Linked DNA regions of Homo sapiens: regions 1, 3 and 4 are each linked to region 2. Evidence: promoter capture Hi-C in human tissues and cell types (Jung and others, 2019). All regions are on one chromosome and are shown on one strand. The core of a region is centred on a gene start or on the middle of the fragment in contact, and the rest is flanking DNA. Distances in the headings are between cores, read along the strand shown.

Region 1 (3,172 bases), core at 140-2,639, 580 kb before region 2:
AACATGGCAAAACCCCATCTCTCCTAGAAATACAAAAATTAGCCAGGCACGGTGGCGGGCGCCTGTAATCCCAGCTACTCAGGAGGCTGAGGCGGGAGAATCGCCTGAACCTGGGAGACAGGATGTTCCAGTGAACCCAGATCGCACCACTGCACTCCAGCCTGGGTGACTGAGACCAGGTCTCAAAAAAAAAAAAAAAAGTGGGGGGAGGCATATAACTTATAGCTTGGTCAGTGGCAGAGCAATGACTGAACCCCAATCTGATTCCAAATTCTACACTCTCTCCATTACATTAGCTGTTAAAGCATGAACATTACATTAGTTAAAGCATGGACTACGAACTCACAGCTCTGTGAGGGGCACTTCTTAAATAGTGAGCGATAATGACACCTATGTCTGCAGCTTTCTGATCGAAAAGGAGCAAAGAAAGATAGAAGAACTAAAGGAACAGAGGGCGTACCAGTAGCCTTGGTTTTGTTGTGACCTCTATAAATCTGGGACCAGTTCTCCTTTCTAAGCCTTCGCGGTAAAATACTGATCACAAGCCTAGCCTCCAATAACTCCCAGGGCCAAAGTAAAGATCAATTCAACAGACGTTGATTAAACCCAAAGGCAATCTAGTCAAGTCATCAAATGCCCTGGGGACAGTTTCCCAGCTCCATCCACTTATTAGTTGTGGGACTCCTGGCAAATTACTTTTTCTATGAATACCTCAGTTTCTTCATGGGTAAAACGTGAAGCTATAGAAAGAACTCACCCCATAGGATTGTTGGGAAGATTAAATAGGCCTTTGGCTGAGCGCGGTGGCTCACGCCTGTAATCCCAGCACTTTGGGAGGCCGAAGCGGGCGGATCACCTGAGGTCGGGAGTTCGAGATCAGCCTGACCAACATGGAGAAACCCCGTCTCTACTAAAAACATAAAATTAGCCGGGTGTGGTGGCGCATGCCTGCAATCCCAGCTACTTGGGAGGCTGAGGCAGGAGAATCGCTTGAACCCGGGAGGCGGAGGTTGAGGTGAGCCGAGATCGCGCCATTGCACTCCAGCCTGGGCAACAAGCGCGAAACTCCGTCTCTAAATAAATAAATAAATGGGCCCTTATGTGTAATGCATTCAGTAGCACCTGACAATTTGTGATCATTCCGTACAGTAAGCCATGACTATTATCATCACGTGCTAGGCCCTGGGATCTAGAGATGAAAAAGGCAAGGCATAACATCTAACGAACGAGCTTACGGTGTCAACGAGGGGCCGGGAAAGTAACTCGGTGCACAGCGAGTGCAAAAACCGAGAAGCGAATGCAGCTGCGCCTGGAGAAGGCGGCTGAGAAGCGATACTTCAGCAGGGTCCTGAAGAATGGGAGCTCCAGAGTCGGGTGGCGGGTGGGACTGGGCTTTCGGATAGATTACGTGCAAATCCGCCAGGACACAGGGAGCGAGGGGCGGGGGGGCGGCAGAGCGCGGCGCCTCACCCTCCCAGCCTGGGATTGCGGCTACTGGACACGAGGGTCGGGAAGCTCTCCTTCGGCGCCGACTGGAGCTTAGCGTGCTGGCGGCAGCAAGAAGCTGAGGCAAGCGGGCCCCGGGCCCTAACGACGCGTCCCAGCCCCTCTCTGGGCCTCGGGTTCCTCCCGGGTAACAAGAGGCCGCTGCCCGAACGGGATTCCCTCAGGCGCCCTAGACGGGCGGGTCTCCGGGCCTCGGACGGTTAACCCGAGCACCTCCCACCTGCCCCTGAGGCCCCACCTCACCACGCTCGGCTCCCGCAGACGCCCGGCTAGTTGCTCCGCGATTGAGCTGCGGCAGCCGCTGCTAAGGCCCTGCGGGGGACGGGGGCGGAGCCCACCCCGAGGCAGAGGGCCAGGCCCCGCCCCCCCAAACTCCCGCCCTTTGGGAGGGGCCCGCCCCTCCAAGTCCTGCACCTATAGGCAGACTGAGCCGGCGCAGGGCCTCCCGCCATGTTGGGTATTGGCAGCCGACTTACTAGAGAGGCCCTGAAGGAAAGGGGGTATTATTTTAAGAATTATAAGATCCCTAGCCAGAAATGGGGACGGTCAGGGTCTCTGGATTCGCGAAAGGGACATTTCGGAAGCAGAAAAGAAAAATTGCCCTCAATCATTTCGCTTTTGGCTTCAGTGTTACATACAGCGCATGTGCAAGGTCACCTGGTTCTAGGTGCGCCTGCGCACAGCTCCACCTACAAACCAGACTACAATTACAACTGCCGAGAAACAAAGGGGCTCGCTGCCACTGGTTAGCGATAATACTGGCAGCGCGACCGGTTTCTGAGGGTTGTTCACCTTGCTGCTCAGACGCTCCGAGAAGCTTCAGGCAGCATAACACTTACAGGCGAGTTACTTACTCAACACTCGGTTTTGTCTGCATGTCTCTGCACAGAGTGTTACCTTTACCTGACTTAATCCGTCCCGGAGCTGCAGTTCTGCTTAAGCCTGACTTCTAGAGAACTTTTTCTTCCCAATAGGACCCATGCGTTATTCCTGTAGCATTTTGTGTATAAATTTTTTTTTTTTTTTTTGAAATGGAGTCTTGCTCTGTCGCCAGGCTGGAGTGCATTGGCACGATCTCGGCTCACTGCAACCTCTGCCTCCCAGGTTCAAGTAATTCTCCTGCCTCAGCCTCCCGAGTAGCTGGGACTACAGGCGCCCGCCACCACGCCCGGCTAATTTTTGTATTTTTAGTAGAGACAGGATTTCACCATGTTGGCCAGGATGGTCTCGATCTCTCTTGACCTCGTGATCCTCCCGCCTCGGCCTCCCAAAGGGCTGGGATTACAGGCGTGAGCCACCGCGCCCGGCCTTGTGTATAAATTGTTAATGCACTTTCTTAGAGTTGTAAACTCCATTTACCTGCCTCACTCTTGCACTCAGTGGTTCTCAATTTTTAGTAGGAATTAAAAACAAAACTGGTAAATGCAGACTCTTGGTTTCCACCCCCAGAGAATCCCTAAACCGGGGGTGGAGTCCAGGAATCTGCATTTTAGAAAGTACCCAGGGTGATTCTGATAATTGGGAACACGTTTTAGGAAGCGCTGCATGAGATTGTGAGCTTGAGCGTAGAGACTGTAATTTGGTCATCTGACTATAGCGCTCAGCACAAGGCCTGGTACAAAATAGGTGCTCAATAAGTGCTGAGTGAATGGGTGAATGAGTGGAT
Region 2 (2,993 bases), core at 183-2,682:
TCCTTCCTATCCTCTCTCCCAAGTCCTACACCCAAACCCCAGAGCTGTTCCCGACACACTGCTTCCCCCTCCTGTCTATAGTTGCTACTGCAGCTGCTGTGTATATAGTAGATTTTTCAAGCACTTCAGGCCATCCCTGAGACTGGTCTGGGGTTGGGAAGAGAAAGGATGTGTGTATAGAGGCTTCACCAGCCCCCCTCTCTTCCTGTGGACTTCACAATGAAAGTTTGGAACAGAGACCTCGTAAAAGAAGGAACCTCCCTCATCCTTGGATATGGAGAAGTAGTACAAGCTGTAGTGTGGTTGGAATTTTGGAGTGGAGAGAGGATGGATGAGTTTGGAGGGAATGAATCTACCAGATTAAGGCAATGATGATGATGATGATGATGCCATTTATTGAGTAGGTGCCAAGCCCTATACTAATCGCTTTCCATTCTGTTACTTAATCCTCATGACAACCCTCTAAAATGGGTACTATTATTCTTTCCATTTCACAGATGGGGAAACTGATAGAGAGACTAATTGTCTTGCCCAAGATTACACAGTGTTTGAGCGGTGGCAGAATAGAACCCAGACATCCAGAATATGGAGACCTATTCCCCACCTTGCCCCACTCCTGCCCTACCATCACTACCACCACTCCTTCTTTCTCAAAGTGTCCTTTCCAGAACCACATCAAAAACTCTTAAAATGATGGTAAATATTCAGGTTCCAAGGACCTCATCCCAGCCTACTGAATCATGATCTCTGGAGTGGAATCTGGGGATCCGCTTTCAAAGATCCTAACACACACTAAAGTTTGAGAATGCGGTTGAAAGAGGAGTCAGAAGTGTCGGGGTGCGGGAAGGGATCTGAGGTCAGAGGAGGGATCTGTTGTCCAAAGAGGCGTCTGCAGTCAAAGAGGCCTGGAGATGAAGCATGGGCTGGGGTTTTCAAAAGGGTTTGGGGGTGAAGACAGAGTCTGAAGTCGAAAAAGAGGTCTAAGGTCGGAGGAGGAGTCTAAAATCGGAGGAGGAGGATCTCGGAATTCAAGGAGGGGTCTGGGGTCCGAGGAGTTTGGGGTCAGAGACAGGATCTGGGGTCGAGAGGGATTTGCGGTCAGTGAAAGGGTCTGGGGCCCGAAAAGGAAGCCTGGGATTTGAGGAGGACACTAGCTGTATTCAGGCTGGAAGGAGGAAGGGGTTTGGTCCCTGAGCTGCGTAAAGTGCAGAGCCACTGAAGTCTCGCTTGCCCCGCGCTCTCCCCTCGACCCTGCGCTGCCTTCCTGGCTGTCCATCTACACGCACCTGTGTGCCAGCTGCAGGCTGATAGCGCTGAGCAGACGGGGGCGAGTCAGACCGGGACACGGCCGAGGGCTGGGAGAGGCGCCCCCTCCCGGCTGTCGCGAAGATCAGGCCCCGCCCTCCGCCCTCCCACTCCCCCGCCGCAGCCACTTCCGGCAGGCGCTGCGCTGCTGGGGGGCGCGGGCGAGGATGGCGGCGGAGAACGAGGCCAGCCAGGAGAGCGCCCTGGGCGCCTACTCGCCAGTGGACTACATGAGCATCACCAGCTTCCCGCGGCTGCCCGAGGACGAGCCGGCGCCCGCGGCCCCGCTGAGGGGCCGCAAGGACGAGGACGCCTTTCTGGGAGACCCCGACACCGGTGAGGCCCGCTGACCCCGTCCCTGCCCTGCCTTGGGAAGTCCCCGGTCTTCCTTCTTCTGTGTCAAGCATCCACCTCCAGCTCCATCTCCTTAATTCATCCCCATCTTCTTGGATCTCTCCCTTCTTCTCCCTTGTCTCTGTTAATTATTTGGTGAGGAAGGGGGTGCATTTCTGCCTTGGAGGCGTAGGATGCGACAACGGAGAGGATGCTAGGGACTGCAGTAGAAGGGATTGGGCTTACCTTCTGGGAAGAACCAACTAACGATGAAGGAATGTTGAAGGGGAGATCCTAAGGAACCGCTGTGATCACCCAGAAGAGGGCTTTCTCTAGCCACAGAGGACAGGATAGGAGAAACCAAGTCAGAGACTGCAGCAAGAGGGATCCAATCTGTGCCTTAAGAGAAGTTCCCCACAGCCAGGGATTGTGAGAAGCAGAGGGTCTGGGAGAAGCGGAGAATCTCTTCATGTCTAGGGAGGGGTAAAGAGAATATGATTCCCCTCTGTTGGGTGTTGGGAGACGGAGGCATGGACTGCATGACCTCTCAAAAGTCCTTGGGGACTAGAACGCCTTCACTCTCCTGTGGATTACCCCACCCCTCCCTGAGCCATGGATCTGGCCGGGGTATTAGTAAGGTACTCTGCTCCCTAGGAAGCAGTCTCCAGAATTTTACTGTGTTCCCCTCAGCCCTCTGCTGGAATTGTGAGAAGTGGGGGTAAGAGAAGGAGGAGACAGGGATTGGAAGAGACCTGGGGGCAAAGAGCTCTCTGTGCATTCCTTCCCTGCTGCTCTTCCTCCTAGCCATGTGGCCCAGCTTCATCCTCCCCTCCATTCTTCATCCTTCATCCCCCATCCCTCTGTCCCTGCACGTCACTTCCTGGCATTAGAGCATCCTTCTACCTCACTCTCGCTTCCTCGCAGTGCCTGCACTTGAGCCTTGTCTCTTACCAGCCTGGCAGATGCTGCTTTTCCGGCTTGGCCCTTCCCTAGCTGCTCCCAGCCTGAAAGCCCCAAATTCTCTCCTCCTCTACACTTTCTGGTCATCTGGCCCTGACCAGCAGCCCTTGCCAACCTGACTGGACTGCACTCTGTATGGGGTGGGGGTGAGGAGATAATGAAGATGGAGTTTAGAGGTTTATGGGCGTCAAATGTCAGGGCTGCGGATCAAAACTTATTTTCCAAAGGGAGTGGAATCAGGAGGTAGCAGGGAGAGGAGTGGGAAGATGTGTCATGATGGATATCAGCCTGAAGCTAGGCCTTTTATTCAGTAGTCAGGAGTGAGACTTCTGGTCCTAATACAGCCCTGACTCACCAAGCGACAACAGGCACACCTACCCTGTCCTGGGCCTTAG
Region 3 (2,932 bases), core at 362-2,861, 670 kb before region 2:
GTTGGTTCCACTGGTGTCCTGCATTAATCTGCTGAAACAACGAATGATAAAACTCCCCACCAGAGTAATCTCTAAGGTGTTAGAAATCCCAGCTTTGAGGACAGTTTGCTGTGGTGGGAAACTGAGTTAACGAAGGGAATTGGGAAGCCACCAAGATAAAGGAAAGGAAGGTAAAAGTGGGTACCCACTCTGTACCAGGCATTTTACACATATGACTTCATTTGATCTTACAATTCCATGTGGTTGGTACTACTGTTTTATTACCACTTTCTAGCTGAAGCTCACAGACTGCAGGAGACAAAGCTAGATGTGAACCCAGGCAATCTGACTTGAGAACCTAAATTCTCATTAAACCACCTGCATTCCAAAGGGGAAGAGCATTAAGGGCTGAATTAAGCCAATGGGCTGGGAAAGCAAACACTCAAAGAAGCCTGGGTCCATCTAGACAGTTCTACCAAGGCAAGAGCACATAAGACCTATCTTCAAACCTCTGGTATTCAAACTACCATCTGCAGGTATTGAGGACCTCTGAGAATAATAGCCAGGTAGATTACCTGACTCGATATGTATAGAGGATTTTAGCTCACTCTGACTCTTACTAGCTGGGGGACCCTAGGCAAGTCACTTGACTTCTCTAGCTCTTAGTTGTTTAATGTATCACTATGCCTGCCACAGTTCACTTGCTAGCAGATAGGCTTGGGTACATCCAGCTTTGGGATCTGAGACCCGGCCCCCTCCCCTGGTTACCATGCCGCTCAGCCTCTGAGCTCACGGGGATGCCATCTTTATCTAGTCGTTGCTTGAACAGGTTGTGTTCCACATCCAGCTGCTGTTCTCCGGCCACATCCATGGCATCAATACTCAGATCTGGAAGCAGGAAAATCAGGCTAAGGTACTGGGACCCTAGGGACAAGGGGATGTGGGTTTTGGAGGGGAAGGGGATACTGGGCCTGTCTTGGGGCAGAACGGGATGAGGAGAAGGAGGTTGTCCTGGGGTCCAGTCCAGAACCTAAGGGTGGAGGTGTGAATCTGGCAGCCCACATGAGAACCCTGGGTCTCTCCAGTCCCACCCATGGTGAGGTACTCACAGGCACAAGGCATGTGCGGAAAAAGTACATCGATGTTGATCTTCAGTTTATCTCCCCGCGACTTGTCCACGTAGAGCTCAGGATGCACCTGGGGCAGCGCTACCTCAGTAAGACTTAGCCCCAAACCTCTCCTTCCCCACTCCCACCCCTAAAGGTCCTACTCCTAGAATGCCAAGCCCCGCCCACGCACTAAGCCCCGCCCCTTACCTCCGTGGTGAGGTAATACTGCAGCTCGGACAGGAACAGTAGCAGCATGAGAAGGCCACTGACAATGGTCACTGCAGGACAAGGGGCGAGGGTCAGAATGGCCTCGAATCCGCTCCCTCAGACACCGGCAGGCCAGTCAGAGTCCAGGAGCCCGGGCTAAGCTCTAGGACGCCCCCCTCCACGCGACCCCGGCCCCGCTGCGGCCTACCGGTGGCGCCCCCGCAGGTCTTGACCCGGAAGTCCTCCAAAGTCTTGGGGTAGGCATCGAACTGCTTCAGCTTCCCCAGCGCCTCCATGGGGACCGGCCGGAAAGGGGACGCCAGCCGGCCCGCCCCTACAGACTCCCTCTTCCGGCCTGGAGCCACGCCCCCCTCTTTTTCCTCACGCAGGCGCAGCAAACCGCACGCTTGGCCCCACCTTTAGCCGCGTTCTCTTACAGGCGGCCCCGCCCAACGATGCTGCCACGCCCCCTTGCGCGGGCAATTGGGTCTGGAAGCTACTGCCCCGGCCTCCGCTGTCCGGGGCGGGATTTTGAGGACTGGGGTGCGAGGAGTTCTCTGCGGGGTTAGAAACGCTAATAGCACCGTTCGTGTGCCTTGTGCTCGGAACTGCACCAGGTGTTTAAGACTCTTGGAACATCTTGGAATATCCTGGAACAGTGGTTTTTCGAGTGTACCGGACCGGCCGCATCATTATCAACTGATTACCTATTAGAAATGCAAATAATTGATTCCCACCTACTGAAGCCGAAACGCTAGGAATGGCATCGGATGATTCTGATGTAAAGTAAGGGTGTCCGCCCTGAAAGCAGGTGTGACTTATCTCCGTTTTCCAAAGAGCAAACTGTGACCTGGAGAAGTTAAATAACTTGCCCAAGATCACAGCCAATTAATAGCAGGACCTGCTTCCAGCCCAGTTCTTCTGGACCTCAAAGTACTCTGGGAATCAGGGTCTTTTGGGTTGATTTTACCTAAACAGCGTCCCAGTGCTTCTCCTGAGCGCTGCTTTCTGAATATTACCCTAAATTGCTCTCCAGGCCCTGGGATCCTCACGGACACGCTCTATCCCTCCAGGTTTAGACTCAAGTGATATGGAGCTTAAGCTCTCCCTGACACTTCCCATTGCAGCCCAGTGTCTCTAGAGGGACAGCTCCCACAGTAATGCAGCTGCAATGAGTAAGATATAAAAGCTCATAGGCTTTCATACAGGAATTCCACTTTAGGAAGTAAAAGCACCATGTCAAGGTTAATAGAAAAATTTTGAAAAAGAAAAAATATGTAAGCAGCTATCCAAGGTTAACAGAAAAAAATTTTAATATAAGGATAAAAGTACCATGATCTGGGTGGTTGTTACACCTTAAGATATTGAATCTGTCTCTTAAAGATTTTAAGTGCACCACATCATAAAGATGTATGCATGAGATTGTTCAATGGCAAAAATCTGGAACCAGCCAGAATGCCCACTGATACATTAAATAAATTGAATAAATCACGATACACCCATTCTATGGAATATTAGGCCACTTTTCAAAAGAATGAGGTAGATTTACTCCTTTAGGTATACTAAGAATGTATTTTTAAGGGGGAAAAGATGCAAAGTAATGTGCATTCCATCATTCCATTTTTTAATTAAAAATT
Region 4 (3,135 bases), core at 400-2,899, 790 kb before region 2:
CCTGCCTCTAACTCCCGAGTAGCTAGGACTACAGACTTAAGCCACCACATCCAGCTTTTAATTAGCAGGGGCATGAAGTTCGGGGGGCTAGGCCCAAAGCGGCTTGAGAACAGCTTTCTTTTTTTTTTTTTTTGAGATGTAGTCTCGCTCTCCTGATGGTCTCCATCCCCTGACCTCGTGATCCTCCCACCTCGGCTTCCCAAAGTGCTGGGATTACAGGCGTAAGCCACCACGCCCAGCCAGAGAATAGCTTTTTCTATAATAAAATAATACTATAGTGAAGCCGTGGAGGGGTCACGATGGATTTAATTTTTTTTTTTTTTTTGAGACGGAATCTTGCTCTGTCGCCTAGGCTGGAGTGCTATGGCGTTATCTTGGCTCACTGTAACCGCCACCTCCCGGATTCAGGCGATTCTCCTGCCTCAGCCACCCTGGTAGCTGGGACCACAGGCGCCAGCCAGCACGCCCAGCTAATGTTTGTATTTTTAGTAGAGACGAGGTTTCGCCATGTTGGCCATGCTGGTCTTGAACCCCTGACCTCAGGTAATCCGCCCGCCTCGGCTTCCCAAAATGCTGGGATTACAGGCGTGAGCCACTGCGCCCTGCCCTAGATTAAAACTCTTTTTTTGTTTTTTTTTCTGAGACGAAGTTTCGCTTTTGTCATCCAGGGTGGAGTGCAATGGCGCCATCTGGGCTCACTGCAACCTCCACCTCCCGGGTTCAAGCGATTCTCCTGCCTCAGCCTCCCAAGTAGCTGGGACCACAAGCACCGCCACCACACCCAGCTAGTTTTTGTATTTTTAGTAGAGGCTGGGTTTTGCCTTGTTGGCCAGACCGGTCTCGAACTCCTGACCTCATGATCCGCCCTTCTCGGACTCCCAAAGTGCTGGGATTATAGGCGTGAGCCACCGCGCTCGGCCTGTATAAACTTTTTTTTTTTTTTTTTTTTTTTTTGAGATGGAGTCTTGCTCTTTCGCCCAGGCCGGAGTGCAGTGGCGCAATCTCGGCTCACTGCAAGCTCCGCCTCCCAGGTTCACGCTATTCTCCTGCCTCAGCCTCCCGAGTAGCTGGGACTACAGGTGCCCGCCACCACGCCCGGCTAATTTTTTGTATTTTTTAGAAGAGACGGGGTTTCACCGTGTTAGCCAGGATGGTCTCGATCTCCCGACCTCGTGATCCGCCCGCCTCGGCCTCCCAAAGTGCTGGGATTACAGGCGTGAGCCACCGCGCCCGGCCCCCGGCCTGTATAAACTCTTAAATGGGAAAAAAGAATCAGGTTTTGGCTGTTTTGTCAGGATATAATAACTAGCCACCACGTTGTGGTCCATTTAATCCTCAAAAAACTTAGAGGTAAGCACAATTCGCTCCTTCCGCGGAAACTGGAAGACGTGAAGCAATTTGCACAGTCTTGCAGTGAAGGGCCAAGCTAGACACTCATACCCAGCCCACCCGCCAGGGCCACTAGCCCAAGGTCGGTCCTGTGCGCCAACAGTCGCAAGCAGGGACTGAATATCCCCCTCTTAGCACAAAACCCAGTAACTTCCGGGAGATCGCCCGAGACCGTCAGCGCGCTTGCGCGGCCCCTTGACGTCAACCACGCCGTTCCTCCCCCTTCTGGAACGCGGAGCCGCTGAGCGGGCCGACGGCCATTTTGTGAAGCGGCGAAGGAGGTGGTGGCTGCGTTGGGCTCCGGGAAGCCGTTCGGGCTGGGGCTGTCGGCCGCGGGGCGGAGGCACTCGCGCGGGGGGTAATTCGGGGTCTGGGTTCTGGTGCCGCGCAGCTTTCCCCGGTAAGACTCCCGCAGCCCCTGAACGGGTGGGGCTGTGCGGGGCTCGTGGTGCCCCTTGGTGGCCCGGGGCGGGGCCTTCGGAGGCCTTCGAGCCCGCGGCAACTAGCGCCCCACACAAAGGGTCGAGGCAGGGCTGCAGGGGGAGTGGGATGCCACTTAGGCCTCTGAGATCTGAGAGGATGCAAGGAGGACGCAAGAGGATGAGCCTGCGTACCGAAGTGGGGACGAGGCCATAGCGAGGACTCCCCCGTGGTCTGAGAGGGGGCAGGCCAGAGCTGGCTGGCTCAGCGGCCTGCGAGCTAACGGGGACTGCAGTAAAAACACGCCTACATCCCGAGTACGGAGGATTTCTTGTCTCCCCCAGTGAAGCAGAGGTTATAACTACATCTCTGTGCCTGGAGGTGGGGAGATAATCGTAGTGAGGACACTCCTTCAACCCGAAATGGAAAGGAGGCCTTTGTGGCCTACCAGCAAAAGGGGACCCAGGTCACACCTGTGGGGAGGAAGCTGTAGTCGGTACACTCCTGTGAGTTCAGAAAGGAAGTGTCACAACCGGCCGCCTTCGTGGCCTGAAGGTGGAGGGGTTTGCAGTGAAATGCCTCCGAGGTCCATTGCTGGGGAGGGGCTTTACTCGAGGGTGTAGCAGTTTTGAGAAGCCGGCGTCTGAAGCTAGGAGGTGAGGGGGTGGGGTGAGTACGCCTCCTGAGGCTCTGAGAATTGTAGTAAGATGCCAGGCCTTTGGTCCCCCAGTAGGGAAGGGGCTGCTGTGAGCAGCACATTTACGGCTCCCTCGGGAGAGGATCCTGTGGCATTTCAGGAGGACGAGATCCAGTGGGCTGCGGAGGGTGGGTGCTTTTGATGGAGAGTTAATTGAGTTTCTCTGAAGCTTGGCTGCATTAGTTTGCAGCCACGTGAATTGGGTGGTGGGAGGGACTTTGAGGATCTACAGGTTAGTGACGGGGTTGGACGCCAGTGCAGCAGGCTTAGCTGCTAGGTTGTAAACGTACGGGCTTTTTGTGTGCCTCCAACGTGTGCTTTATAGTGACAAATCTGAGGGGCTCTTGTGAGGGTTACTCAGTATTAAGTGCTAAACATTTACTCATCTGCGTGGTGTCATGCTGAGAATTGCAGACTTTAAGAGATTTCTGGGCCCTAAAACCCTCCTTGGCTCCAGGATTCTCAGAGATAACCTAATATAAATTGAAGAAGTTGGTAGGGACCGTTTTATATTATTCAATAATAGAGTCAGTATAACCCACTGGAAAAAAGTGTGATGGCAACTGAAGGTTTGTTGAAGGGAGAGGCTAGGCTTGTGACTGCAGTATTTTAGAGCTTCTTGCTTGAAT

Evidence for each region. The method cuts DNA at HindIII sites, captures the fragments that hold promoters and counts their contacts. A contact is called where the count stands out against the background at its distance.
Region 1: the fragment with the promoter of CEP250 here is called in contact with the fragment with the promoter of GGT7 in region 2 in 3 of the 25 tissues and cell types used here (aorta, dorsolateral prefrontal cortex and spleen).
Region 3: a contact is called between the fragment with the promoter of ERGIC3 here and the fragment with the promoter of GGT7 in region 2, in 1 of the 25 tissues and cell types used here (mesenchymal stem cells).
Region 4: the fragment with the promoter of CPNE1 here is called in contact with the fragment with the promoter of GGT7 in region 2 in 1 of the 25 tissues and cell types used here (dorsolateral prefrontal cortex).

The regions. Positions count from the first base shown.
Region 1 is chr20:35,453,815-35,456,986 of GRCh38, reverse strand. It overlaps CEP250 (centrosomal protein 250), which reads right to left and starts at 1,389. Exons shown (of 35, transcript NM_007186.6): 1 at 1,236-1,389. MIR1289-1 (microRNA 1289-1) reads left to right here and starts at 2,890; the gene lies at 2,890-3,033. It also overlaps a transcript of GDF5 not described here. RefSeq lists a silencer at 1,595-1,974 and enhancers at 1,995-2,144, 2,405-2,454. The HindIII fragment of the contact is 9,261 bases long and covers 1-3,172 here.
Region 2 is chr20:34,871,295-34,874,287 of GRCh38, reverse strand. It overlaps GGT7 (gamma-glutamyltransferase 7), which reads left to right and starts at 1,432. Exons shown (of 15, transcript NM_178026.3): 1 at 1,432-1,641. The coding sequence starts at 1,473. RefSeq lists a silencer at 1,261-1,550. The HindIII fragment of the contact is 17,400 bases long and covers 1-2,993 here.
Region 3 is chr20:35,540,757-35,543,688 of GRCh38, reverse strand. It overlaps ERGIC3 (ERGIC and golgi 3), which reads right to left and starts at 1,611. Exons shown (of 13, transcript NM_015966.3): 1 at 1,504-1,611; 2 at 1,296-1,366; 3 at 1,089-1,176; 4 at 748-867. The coding sequence starts at 1,591. RefSeq lists an enhancer at 1,850-1,939. The HindIII fragment of the contact is 35,337 bases long and covers 1-2,932 here.
Region 4 is chr20:35,663,414-35,666,548 of GRCh38, reverse strand. CPNE1 (copine 1) reads left to right here and starts at 1,649. Exons shown (of 16, transcript NM_152925.3): 1 at 1,649-1,789. RBM12 (RNA binding motif protein 12) reads left to right here and starts at 1,649. Exons shown (of 3, transcript NM_006047.6): 1 at 1,649-1,789. RefSeq lists enhancers at 1,681-1,730, 1,312-1,816, 2,001-2,110, 2,431-2,480, 2,321-2,826 and 1 more and a silencer at 1,788-2,082. The HindIII fragment of the contact is 6,796 bases long and covers 1-3,135 here.